2 separate regions of the Homo sapiens genome follow, and region 1 is linked to region 2. Evidence: promoter capture Hi-C in human tissues and cell types (Jung and others, 2019). All regions are on one chromosome and are shown on one strand. Each heading gives the region's core, a stretch centred on a gene start or on the middle of the fragment in contact. The rest is flanking DNA. Distances are from core to core; before and after follow the strand shown. Region 1 overlaps KCNJ12 (potassium inwardly rectifying channel subfamily J member 12). Region 2 holds the start of MAP2K3 (mitogen-activated protein kinase kinase 3).

What was found. Contacts are between HindIII fragments. The study calls those that stand out against the background at their distance.
Region 1: a fragment that was not itself captured here is called in contact with the fragment with the promoter of MAP2K3 in region 2 in 4 of the 25 tissues and cell types used here (bladder, dorsolateral prefrontal cortex, mesendoderm cells and 1 more).

The regions. Positions count from the first base shown.
Region 1 is chr17:21,414,720-21,421,010 of GRCh38, reverse strand. It overlaps KCNJ12 (potassium inwardly rectifying channel subfamily J member 12), which reads right to left. Exons shown (of 3, transcript NM_021012.5): 3 at 1,141-5,724. The coding sequence starts at 5,668. The coding sequence ends at 4,367. Among named protein-coding and RNA genes, the nearest start is that of KCNJ12, 42 kb to the right of the region's middle. The HindIII fragment of the contact is 7,187 bases long and covers 1-6,291 here.
Region 2 is chr17:21,282,038-21,288,278 of GRCh38, reverse strand. It overlaps MAP2K3 (mitogen-activated protein kinase kinase 3), which reads right to left and starts at 3,568. Exons shown (of 12, transcript NM_145109.3): 1 at 3,310-3,568. The coding sequence starts at 3,358. RefSeq lists enhancers at 120-209, 53-648, 1-719, 1,860-1,919, 3,996-4,496 and a silencer at 3,580-4,109. The HindIII fragment of the contact is 7,420 bases long and covers 1,098-6,241 here.

The DNA of each region.
Region 1 (6,291 bases), core at 2,106-4,605, 130 kb before region 2:
CTGGAGGGGGAAAGGAATTCACAGGAGGTCCCCCAGCAAATGAGTGGCCTGCATTCTGACCCAGGGCCCTTTGCGGCATTAGTACAGCCAGGACAGCGCACCTGGAGACTCTACGATAAGCATTTGTTGAGCACCAACTGGGGCCAGGGCCTCATGCCTACCAGTCAGCGCCATGGGAATGGCCCGGAGGGCTTGAGTGAAGACAGATGCTACCGTGTTTTGGCCCCAGTTGGCCTTGATCCTGCTACTGGGGTCCCAGGAGGGCCCCAGAGTCAGAAAGGAGGTCCCCACCAAACCAAGCCACCTCCAGGGTCCCCGGGTCACCCCAAGTCCAACCCAAGGGAGCTCCCACTGGGAAGCCTTCATGACCCCCTAGGCCCTGGCACCCAAGCCCCTGCTCCACATTCTGCCATGCACGGCACCATCACCCAGGAATGACTCAGGCAGGGGATTCTTATCCGGGGTTGTCTGGAATCATCATCGAAATCCTGCAGAAAGAGGGTGCCCTGAGTCCTTTGCTGATGCAGAGGAGTGGAGAACTCTCCACTCACATAGTTTGGGAAGGGAAGGAATTCTCTCCCCACAAGTCCCTGCTGAAGACCTTGGAGATCTGGGGCTGAGCCTCAAGGTACAGATGAAAGTCTAGTTTCCCAAAACTGGGCCGTGTGTGTTCCCTCACCCCACTCCAGGCTTGTCTCGTCACCTCAGTGGAGACATTGGCACGCTCTGAAACTCCTCCTCAGCCCCTGCCTGCTACAAGCTGGAGCAGGGCTTCCCCTCCTGGGAAAGGAGTTGCCTGTCTCAGGTCAGCCTCCCCCAGCTGGGGAGGGCGCTGCTGCAACAGCAGGCACCCAGCACATCCTTGCAGAAGGAAGGGAAGGCAGGAGGCTCGGCCCTGCCGCCTGGGATGGGTGACATCATGGGACAAGCCCTGTGTGCTTGCTGGAGACCACTGGGAGCTGCAAGGAGGCTGAGTTCTGTTCCATCTCCCAACAGCTGCCACCATGCCCCACCCTCACCCATGAGGAAGCCCCAGGAAACCCCCACCCAAGGCGGAGGCTGAGGAAGCCGGGCGGACGCCCAGCACGCTGTGGAGCCATGCAGGGGAACTTCAGAAAACACATCTCAACACAGGGGACCTCAAAGAGATCAAAATGCATTTAATGTGGTCTAGTCTCATCGCCTACGTCTTTAGATACTGCTATGTATTGAAAATAACATGAAAACTCTCCAGTTTCACCATTTAAAATAATTTGACATTCTATGCCCTCACGCAGGGCAGACACCCCGTACAGGGGCCTCCCAACGGTGGCTCCTCCCCGCCCCCCAGGACCCTCTGGGTGGGGACCACGCAGCACAGCACCAGCAGAGGCTCAGGGGGTGGCCACCGTGCTCTGAGCAGCAGGCATAGGCTGCACACAGACACACACTCAAGTACACGGTTTCACATGGGCACACACACAGCCTCCTACACACGAGCCGGACGCACACGCTCACCTCCAGATGTCTCATCCTGGAACACAAGCTCCACTCAGGAGCAGACGTGCATAATCAGGGCAGAGGGTCGGGGACTGTGGGGTTCACCTGTGCCAGTGCCCAACCTGATGGGTGGGTGCCCTCCCTCACAGGAAACTTGTACACGGAAACACCTGGGGGTAGACAGACACATAACCGCCTGCATACACACACACACACACACACACACACACACACACGTATAGATCACGTATCTGTATTACTAACCCAGTCATACACATGAAGAGCCGAGTGTGCATGTGTGCACCACACATGTATGCATGCAGGCTCACACAGGCACACGCCTCCACACACACACTCCCCAGGGGCCAAGTCTTCCTCGCTCCTGGCTCATCCCATCCGCCCTCCCGCTTCAAGTGCACTAAAGAGGGAGACTATTTTGGTCTTTAGCACAAGCAATAAATAAATAAATAAATACGAGGGAAGGAAGAAAGAGGGCAGGAGAATCAAGCATCTGCCGCCTTTGGGGAGATGAGGCGCTGGGGCTGCTCTCCCGCAGGGTGGGGGCTGGGAGGTAAGAGCACAGACCTCCAAGAGGGCCAGGAGGTGGGCCTGGGGTCCTCGGACTCAGCTCTGGGTCGGGGGAGTAGAAGGCTGTCTCACTGGCCCTGGAAGGGCACAGGCCCCTACACCAGCACCAAGTGACCAGGGTCACCACTGTCCCTCAGCATGGCCATCAGGGAGGCGAAGTGTCAAGCTCTCCCCTGCCAACTTCACCCCAGTACCCAGGGCTAAGGCTGAGAAGGCCCCTAAGGCTTCGGGGCTAGGCCTGGGAGCAGGAACCAGCTGAGGCACCCCTGGCAGACCCCGAGAGGAAAGAGCTGCCTCGGCGGAATCTTCTATGCCAGAAATGAGTGTGGGGCTGAAGCTGGGACAGGATGCTGAGTCGGGCCTACCCCAGGATGTAGGGGTCGGGTGTCTTGACTTCCATTGCCCCAGACCTCAGGGCTGAGTCTTCAGCTGCTAAGGAGGGGAGGAGGTGGAGGGAAGAGGCAGACACCCCCACCCCACGCCCCCAGCCCCTCTCTGTCTCCTGCACCCCACCCACTCACTGCATGACCCCCTCTGCTCTCTGCCTCAGCTTCCCCACTTGGGCCAGAGTCCTCGGTGCCTTCTGGCTCTGAGCTGTCTCGGGGTGCCTTCTGGCTCTGAGCTGTCTCGGGGTGCCTTCTGGCTCTGAGCTGTCTCGGGGGCAGAGTTGGAGCAGGAGACACATCCTTTCTGATTACTGGCTTCTGGAGAAGCCCGACTAGAAGAGAGCAGGTTTTCTCCGCAGCCCTGGGAAGGGCCTGGCTCTACCATGGACCTGACCCAACCAGCTGCCATGAACAAGATGGGGTGGCAGAGCCAGCAGTGACAACAAGGGGACCCCAAACCTCTTCCTGATGAGGGTGCCATAGTGCCTCAACCTGGGGGAGGGTGGTGGAGGAGCGGCCCTGGAAGACTCGGCAGGAATTCTGTTCCACGGCTGGTTTCTGATTCAGCTTTGAATGAGCGTGGCCCTCCCCAGTCATCCCAGTTGGCAGGAGGGGGTGGCGATTCCTCTCCTTTCCTAAGATCTTTCCTCTGCCATTCAGCGCTGACCAGGGCCTGGCTGTGCCCTGCCTGAACTCTGCTGTGCTGCTCCAGGTGAGGGAGGGACAGGATGTGGTCCTATGTCAGGCAGACCTGGCCCCTGCCACCTTCACAAGGCAGACAGAGGGGCTGGAGGAACTTCAGCAGTGGAGGTATGGGAGGGGTGGGGTGGGACAGGGTTGGGGGGAGATGAGCAAGCCCAGAAAGAACAGGACAACCCGGAGTCTCTAAGGCACGACTCACACTGTGGGCCCAGTGGGGACGGGGCTGCCAGCTTCCTCCTAGCCTGGGATCCCGACTTCCCTTCCCAAGGAGCCATCCCGGCCTATAGCTCCTAACCACCCCTCACTGTGGAATTGGGCGGAGGCCTGGACAGAAATGGAGAGAGAAGCAAAACAGGAAAATCGAGGGTGCGGGGAGGAACCCTCGATGGCAGGTCCCATGCCTGGCCCTGAGACACATCTCTAAGGTACAAAGGCAAACTCTAAAAGCTCAAACCAGTTTCTTCCCAGCCCCACCCACCACCCCAACGACAGTAGAAAGCTTTTATTACGATCATTAACATGGTCTTGATTTTTCTATCACAAACAGAGCCTAGCTGGCTCGTGAGCTCGATGAAGTGCGGTCCCAGAGCACCCTGCTTGCCCAGGGACTGTGGTGCCCACACACACGGGGAGAGGCCAGTCCCACCTCGGGGAACCCTCTGGAGCCTTCAGCCAGCTGCTGCATCCTGGCAGACCCATGGAATTCTAATTGTTCTTTTTGCCCCCTGTGAATTAAAAAAAAATTTTTTCAATTGCATGGTAATTTTTTTTTTTTGTAAACAGTCTCACCCAAGCTAAGGTCAAGAAAGCTGAAACCCGGTGTTTCTCCCCAAGTTAAAAACCAGCAAGGAGCACCGCAGCTAGCCAGCCTTGGACAGCAGAGGCTGGGCCCACCATCGAGCTGAGCTGCTTCCCCGCAGGCTGCAGCTCCATCTTCAGGCAGAAGCCCTGGCCCTCGTGGCCTGGCCCCCCAGGAGGCCACTTCTTTGCCCTGAGCCTGTGATAGCCTCTGAGGCCGGGGGCTGCCGCTCTGGCTGCCCCCTCTCCGGCCAAACTTCTGAGGCCGTTGCAAAGAAACATAAAACGACTAAAACGCTACTGAGTCTGCAACCCAGGGCACTGGGCCCGTTCTGCTCAAACCCGGGGCCCCTGAGCGACCGCGGGGCCTCTCCCCAGCCGGGGGTGGATGCTGCATGTCGGCCAAGGTTGGCTCAGATCTCTGACTCCCGTCTGTAGGGCCGCTGCTCCAGGACCCCGCCGCCAGCCTGGAGTCTGTCAAAGTCATGCCTGGCCTGGGGGCTGAGGCCGTCCCGGCTTCGGCCGTCCTGGTCTCCGTCCGCCTCATCCTCCTCGTCACGGCTCAGGAAGGCCAGCTCGTTCTCGTAGCAGAAGGAGTTGGCGCTGGGCAGCAGGAACTTGTTCTCTACCAGATCCTTCGCACTGCAGCGGGGCGTAGAGGGCACCTCATAGGTCTTGTGGAAGTGCGAGTAGTCAATCTTGTACTGGTTCTTCTCCTCGAAGAGCACGGGCTCAAAGCGGTGACCCCACAGGATCTCATTGGCCAGGTAGGAGCTGCGGGCCTGGGTGGTCATGGCTGTGGCCTCCACCATGCCTTCCAGGATGACCACGATCTCAAAGTCGTCCGTCTCCAGGTCCTGCCGGCTGATGCCGAAGAGCGGGCTGGCCTCGTCAATCTCATGCAAGATGGTGATGGGCGACACCAGAAAGATGCGGTCCAGGCCCTTGTCGAAGCCCACATCGATGTCGATCTGGTCCAGCGGGATGTACTCGCCCTCCTCGGTGACCCGCGGCTTGATGAGCTGCGCGCGCACATGGGCCTCCACAATGTGGCTCTTGCGCAGGTTACCCACACGCCACATGAGGCAGAGCTTGCCGTCACGCAGGGCCACCACGGCGTTGTGGCTGAACAGCAGCGTCTGTGCCCGCTTCTTGGGCCTTGCCATCTTGGCCATGATGGCACCAATCATGAAGGAGTCGATGATGCAGCCCACGATGGACTGGGCCACCACCATGAAGACGGCCACCGGGCACTCCTCCGTCACACAGCGCAGCCCGTAGCCGATGGTGGTCTGCGTCTCGATGGAGAAGAGGAAGGCCGCCATGAAGCCGTGCACCTGCATCACACAGGGTGTGCGGCCCCGGCCCTCAGCCGGCTCCAGGTCACCGTGTGCCACCGCGATGACCCAGAAGATGATGCCGAACAGCAGCCAGGAGGCAAGGAAGGCCAGCGAGAAGATGAGCAGCATGTACCGCCAGCGGATGTCCACACAGGTGGTGAACATGTCAGCCAGGTAGCGCTGTGACTTCTCGTCCATGTTGGCGAACTCAATGTTGCACTGGCCATTCTTCTTGACGAAGCGGTTGCGGCACCTGCGCCGCGTGTGCACCTTGCCGTTGCCGAAGCCGTTGGCGCCCGACATGGTGACCAGGTGCAGCCCGTCCTCCTCCGATGACACGATGCTGTAGGGGTTGGCCCGGCTGGCCGCGGTCATCCCGGGGGTTGGGGGACCCTGGCTCGCCCCCAGGCTAGCTCCAGGCAGGGCGGCTCCTGCAACAGAGACGACAGCATGTCTGGCTGGGCTGGTGGCTCCGGGCTCCTCTACCCCCATCCCAGGGCCCCCAGACGTGACTGGAGGACGCTTCCACCCTGATTGACCCACGATCGTGCTCTGGTCTTGCCCAAGCCAGCTCCCCACTCCGCCTTCCCAGTGCGAATGGCCACCCCCTTCGGGCCCCCAGCAGCTCCAGCCAAAAACCTCAGCTCCACACCTCACTCCCACACTGAGGGCTCTGAAGAGTCTATTTAGGATCCGACCCCTTCTCCCACCCTCAAGGCCTGAATCTAACAGTGCCTGCCCAGCCAGTTCGGGGCACAACTTGCCAGCCTCTCTGCCTCTGCCCATGGCCCCCCAGTCTCCATGGCAGCCACAGAGGGCCTGTGGAAGCTGAGTCGGTGCCTATCCCTCCCCTGCTCAATGCCAGAGGCCCCCCAGGACATGCAGGACCTGCACAGGGAAGCTCCTGACCCCTCGGACCTCACCTCCCAGCCTCCTCCAGCGGACTCCCCTTCCGGCCACAGCCCCTGGCCCCAGGCTGTCCCTCAAACCCACCCTGG
Region 2 (6,241 bases), core at 2,319-4,818:
GTTCCCAGCCCAGTCCGAGGCCCAGGAAGGGGCCACCTCCAGTGCCCCAGCTCAGGGCTAGGTGCCACCTGCAGGACACGTAACCCCCTCCCCACCCACCAGGCTGGCAGGCATCGCCCCTTTAAGCTGTAGGCAGCCGGCTGGCATGCCCAGCGGGTGAGTCAGCACCCAGTGCCCGCTGACTCACCGCCGGAAGCCTCCGCTGCCCCGGCCTTCTCCTCACACGGGCCAACTGAGAACTTTGCTCCCTTTGGGCGCTGGGCCATGGGTTGGCTGACAGAGAGTTTCCTGTGCGTCACAAGAGGGGTGGGGGAAGTCCCCGAGGTGCCACCTCCAGTCTTTCCGACAGCCAGGGGTTGGGGGGGTGGCCACAGCAGGCAGGGCTAGGATACAACAGTGCTCTATGAAACCTCAGTGTCACCATCGGGCAGTCAGGAGTCCTACAGCCACAGTCCAAGCTGTGTGAAGATTAGCCATGAAGTGCTCCCACAGGTGGCACTCTTAGGGCAGAAGGGGCAGAACCCATGTTCTGAACGACAACAGGACACGTGTGGTACCCTCCAAGGACAAATGTGGCTTGCACACATGCCCCCACCCACTGGCCCCAGCGCCAGCCACTTGGCCTCTAACCCCAGCCAGAGATGGCCATGTGGGCAAGGAGGCCAGGGGAAAACCAGCAGAGCTGTGGGCCTGAGGGCCTCACACACTCATAGAAAACTCCCCAGGCCCATGGCATGGAAACAGTGCAGGGCACCTGCTGCCAGGCAGGAAGCTCAAAGGTAAAGCTCCAGTAAGGTCAAGCGCCAGCCACTCCCTGCTTTGTTCAAATTCCTTTGAGAAGGTGGAGAAGGGATCAGTGCTGGGAGGCCCAGTGCCCAGGATGGGGTGGGCACAGAGTGAGGCTCTCCACCTATGGGGGCAGTCCGGCCACTCCTCCATCCAAGCTGAGTTCTGCATCTGTCAAATGAGTGGGATTTTGCAGCGAGAATGCAACAGGCCCAGTGTAAAGCGCTGTGCACAGGAGAGGCATCACCTCTGCCTCAGTCTGTCCTCTAGGTCTGACGTGGCCATGAGGACAGGCCCACTGCACATGCTCTGAGCAAGGCCAGGGGTGGGGGCACCCCACCAGCTCAGCTCAGGCATCCAGCATGGGAGGGGCACATAGGGGAGCACGGGGAAGGCCACTGTGGAAACACAGTCCTAGGGGGAACCCTAGCTCCGCCTGTCACAGCTGTGTGGCCTCAGGCAAGGCACTTAACGCCTCAGTTTCCTTATCAGTAAATGGGGCTATGAGGAATAAATGAGAAAATGCATGGCACATGGAAAAAAAGAAGGAGCTCATAGGGTTTTTGGTGAAGGGCATTGTGGCTCTGCCACCACATCCTTCCCCAGACCCCAAAGAGACTACAGAGTCCCTGGGCCTGAGGGAGGTCCCTGACCCTCCATCCAGCCCCCTCAACCTCATCTAGGACCTGGGTCCACATCTAGAAGTTCATTTTGGCCCTCTCACAGCATTCTCACTGCATCTATGACCCCTCTCCTTTCACAACTCTGCAACTGGAACTTTTATTTTGATGAGGCATTCTCTGCCTGGAGAGCTAAAAAGCCTCCAAAACAAACAGTGCTTCCTACCCTTCCCCGAGCTCTCCAGAGTGGAGAAGTGTCTGATTTCCTGGTTCCCAAGCTCCACGAGGTCTGTGCAGTGCAAGTCCCTCCCCAGACACCTCCCCCGTCGAGTGCCTCCCGAGTTACTCACAGTGGTTGGGCAATGGTCAGGGATCCGGCCTCCCACTTATGTAAGGCATAATTATCCAGCCCACCCGGCTCCAGCCACCATAGCAGCCAGCAGCAGGGGCCAGGAAGAGCCCATGCCCTCCCCAGGCCCACATAGGGCTCCCATTGGCCTGCACCCTCCAGAACAGAAGAGCGGCTGACCCCTGATGAAGTGCCCACTAGGTGCCCGCTGCTAGGTGCTTCCTCCTGCTCACTCTGAGGCTGCACTTCCAGCAGTGGAGGCCTTTCCAGCAAGAAGAATGGAAACAATAGCGAGATGTGTGCAGCCAGTGTACCCTGGTGAGCACCGGCTCTGCGCCAGGTGCTACGCTGAGAGAACGCCTCAGAGCTCTTTACTATTCACCACCCCACACCACACTCCCACGTCCACAGAAGCAGGTGCGATTACTTCCAATTTACAGAAAAGGAAACTGAGGCCCAGAGACACCAGGGAGCTTGCTGGGGTGAAGCAGCTGCAGGTTCAGAAAGCCAGGAGGCAGCCCATTCATTACGGCTATGTCCGGTTTGGAAATCTCTCGCACAACCCAGCCTACTGAAACTCCGACGCACCAAAAACATCCTTTCCTCTTCCTGAAAAAAAAAAAATTCCCCTTTTGCCCTCCGAGTTTCATCCTTCCCCCTCCGCATGACAAATCCTGCTGCTGCCACCTCACAAAAATTTCCAGGAAGGCCAGCTACTTGGAGAAGAGCAAATCCCTTGCACAGCCAGCACCCTGGCCTGGCGGCTGGCCCAGATCCCAGGCAGCCAGGACAAGAATAAGATGGGGTGAGAACCCCCAGTGCAGGGAGAAGCTTGCAACTCAAGACAGAGAGAGGCCGGTAGAGAGGGGGCTGTACCTTAGGGAGGGGTGGGAGGACAAGGAAGGTTCCTGGGAGCCCAGGGCTGCAGGACAGGGTGCAGGCCAGCCAGGGAAGGGGCAACATAGGGCCTATAAGGATAAGAAGAGCTGGGGGAGAGAAGGACGGGGAGTTCCGAGCTGGGGTGTAGCCAGAGCACCCGCATAGGGGGTACAGTGAGGTCCGCAACAACAGGAGCACTCTGGGGCCCAGATGGAGACTCAAGTTAAATCCCAACCTGGATACAGCCCTGGGACCCGAAGCTAGAAATGGGACTGGGTGCTGCCCAAGGACCCAGGTGAAGGCCAGTGTGAATCTCACCTGGGTCCCGCTGAGGGAGAAGACTGGGAGAGTTCATGTCCAGGCTGCAGCCATAAGGCCCAAATGAGGTCAGAATGAGGCTCCTGACTTGGATGGGGTGAGCAGAACAAAGTCCTAGTCTGGGTCCAGCCTGGGTGATCTCGGGCCTGAGTGCAGTCCCAAGGCCTAACGTGGGGGTCCAGGTGAGGGCCCAGGCGGGGGCTGGTCCCGGGACCCCGAACAGGAAGGGGTTCCGGGACCGGACGCCGCTGCCAGGTCGAGAACAGGATGGGGTGGGACCAAAGAAAGGTCGGGGTTTGCAGCCCGGCCCCAGATTAGGCGCGGGGTCAGGCCGAGGTCCCGGCCGGGAGCGCCTACCTTTGGACTGGGGCATGCTGGCGGGCTGGCTCGAGGCGGGCGACTCCATGCTGCAAGTGGGTCCTGGACGGCGGTGGAGACTAATCTAGAGGACTGCGGGCTCCACCGGGGCCGAGCACGCTCATGGCTGCGGGCAGACGGCCCAGGCCAGGCGGAGGAGCAGCGGCGGCGGCGGCGGCGGCGGCGGCGACTGCGGCGAGGACTGCGGCGGCGACTGCAGCAAGGACGAGTCCGCGACGGGCGGCGCCGGAGACAGACTGGGCAGCGCCGGGGAGACCCCGGCCGAACTGCGCTGACTCAGGCCCCGCCCCTGCGTGCCCGATTGGTCCTTTCGTTTCCAAGGCCCGTCCTCTGCCTATCAGACGCCGGCCTGTCCCTGCCTGTCAAGCACACGCCCCACCCTCCTTAGGCCCAGGATCCGGGCCCCTCCCGCTCTCTGTCAAGTCCGCCAGCCGCCCGAAAAACCCAGGTCCGGTCAGGCTCCGCCCCCTGGACTAAAGCCGCGCCCCTCGCGCTGCCCGTCAACATGCAAGCCCCACCCACTCCCGGGACCCACTGAGCCCGCTGCTCCCTGCAGGCGCCCAGGCCCAGCCCGGCACCCCCAGACCCGCAGCCCCGGCGGGTGCGATGCGCGGGCGCGTTCTCCTGGGTGCGTCGTCTGGAAAAAACCCGAGATCCCTAAAGGTGGCACGGCTGGGCCTGCCGAAGTGGGCGGGGGTTAAAAGTGCGCTGCTGGGCTGCCTCCTGGCTCTCTGAACCTGCAGCTGCCTCACCCTAGCAAGCTCCCTAGTGTCTCTGGGCCTCAGTTTCCTTTTCTGTAAATTGGACCCGGGTTCGGATCCGAGTCGGCAGCTTTGTAGCGGAACTAGCCTTGGTCAGGTGGTGACACCTGAGCCTCAGTCTACGCATCTGTGAGCGGGCGGCGGTGACAGCTATCTCCCGGCGCTGCTCGCTAACACGCACTGAGGGCCTGGCGCCAGCAAACGTCGCCCGCGCCCGCGCTCCAGGCGCCCGGCCAGGGCGCGGGGTCGGTGGTGAGCTCAGCGATGCCCGGTGACGAGGCAGCACGAGGAGTTTTCGTGGCTGGTTACTGCTGCCCCTGTTCTACACAGGGGGAAACCGTGTCTCAGAGGGAGTGAGGCGGCATGCGGTGCATTTTATCCCGCGAGCCCCGAGGCCCCATCCTGGCTCTCTCCTGGACCTTCGTTCTCTCCTCTCCTCCTAGGATCTCAGTCTGCCCATCTGCATAATGGCTGGATGGGCCAGTCCTCCCTCTGCTCCCACACGGAACCTCGGGGGATTTCAGGAACCGCTGACCAATCTGGCGCTGGGAACAGATGACTCTGGATGTAAAGCCAGGGCTAGTGAAGGCAGAATGTACCAGGCAAAGGTCAAGGGGTCAGCCCCTGGCCTCCAGGCAGACATGTGTACCCTGTCAGGGACCTCACGTGAGGGAAGCAGATTCCACCACCTGCTAGAAAGGCTTGAGGCCGGGCCTGACCTCTGCTTGCCCAGGTGTAAAGTGGGGGTGATGCAGGGCCCCATGCACAGAGTGGGGAGCCACAGGAGATAAGAGGGAAGCCTTGCAGCCATCACCATTCTCTTCCTGCGTCTCCTGTTCACCCTTCCCAGGCAGTGGGATGGAAAATCATGAGTCTGGGGCTCAGATAGGTATGGGTTCCAATACCAATTCCTCCACTTACTAGCTGGATGACCTTAAAGAAGTCACTGAGCAGCTCTGTGCCTCAGTTTACCTATCCCATGGGGACAATAAGGTCTCTGAAAGCGTTTCATGAGTTCAGGAGTGGAAACACCTGGCCTAGGGCTTGGCACTCACTAGGTGCCCAGGAAATGTGAGTTTGAAAACACTGTGGGCTGCCTCCATCCTTGCCATATCATCCCTGGTGACCTGTGCTTATCCGTCTGTAAAATGGGCATCCAGGAGCAGCTTCCTTTCTACCAGAACTGCAAGGCTAGTCCAGCGAGTTTTCTGGGTTCAGGCACTGGCCAACAGCCTTGACTTCTGCACAAGGCCACACTCCGCCTTGTGCACTCTGCTTCTTGGGATGTTCAAGAGTCTCAGTATTGCCCCTCAAATGTGCCAGGGATGGTCCTGCCGCAGCAGCTTCACCCTTGCTGCTCCTGCCCAGAACATTCTTCCACTCAAGCCTCCTGGGGCTGGTTCCCTCTCATCCCTCAGACCGCTTCCTAAATGAACACCCCTAAGAGGCCTTCTCATCATGGTCCCCAGACTGAGGCACAACACTTATGCTGCTGATGTCTTTGTTACTGACTCAGTTTTTAACACAGCTCTCCCTCCAGACCATCCGAGCCTCATTCCCTGCTGTGTTCCCAATGCATAGCCCAGAACCAGGCACATAGTAGGTGCCTGATAAATATTTGAGGAATGAAAAAAGGAAGGAGGAAAGCATCCACAGACCAGGGTGAAGCGACTCCAGTCCCGTGCCAACCTCCTTGGCGGCCAGATGACTCAGACAGGCCCTCGCATACAAGGAGTTTGGGGATTAGTCAGGAGCCCGATAAACAGCTCAGGAATCACAAAACTCCATGTGAGTGCTATAAATAGATGCATGAGCAAAAGTCCCAGGAGGGTGCCTGGGTGATGCAGCCATCTCCATCTGGGTGGGGACAAGGAAGGCCTCTCAGAGGAGGTGATTTTGAGACTGGACTTTTAAGGACCAGTAGGAGCTTACCAGGCAGAGAAGCAAGAAGAGCATCCCTGGAAAGGAACAGCAGAGGCAATGGGTTGGAGATGTAAAAAGGGCCACACATGAGGACCAGGTGAGGGCCAGACTGGGATGCACAGCTGCACCACTGGAGCTCAAGAAGTACCATCAAGAACCATCAGAGACAAAGGTCTCTTGCTGGCTTGCTATAGTGACATCTCTTGATTTCTTTCTGTCTGTAAGTG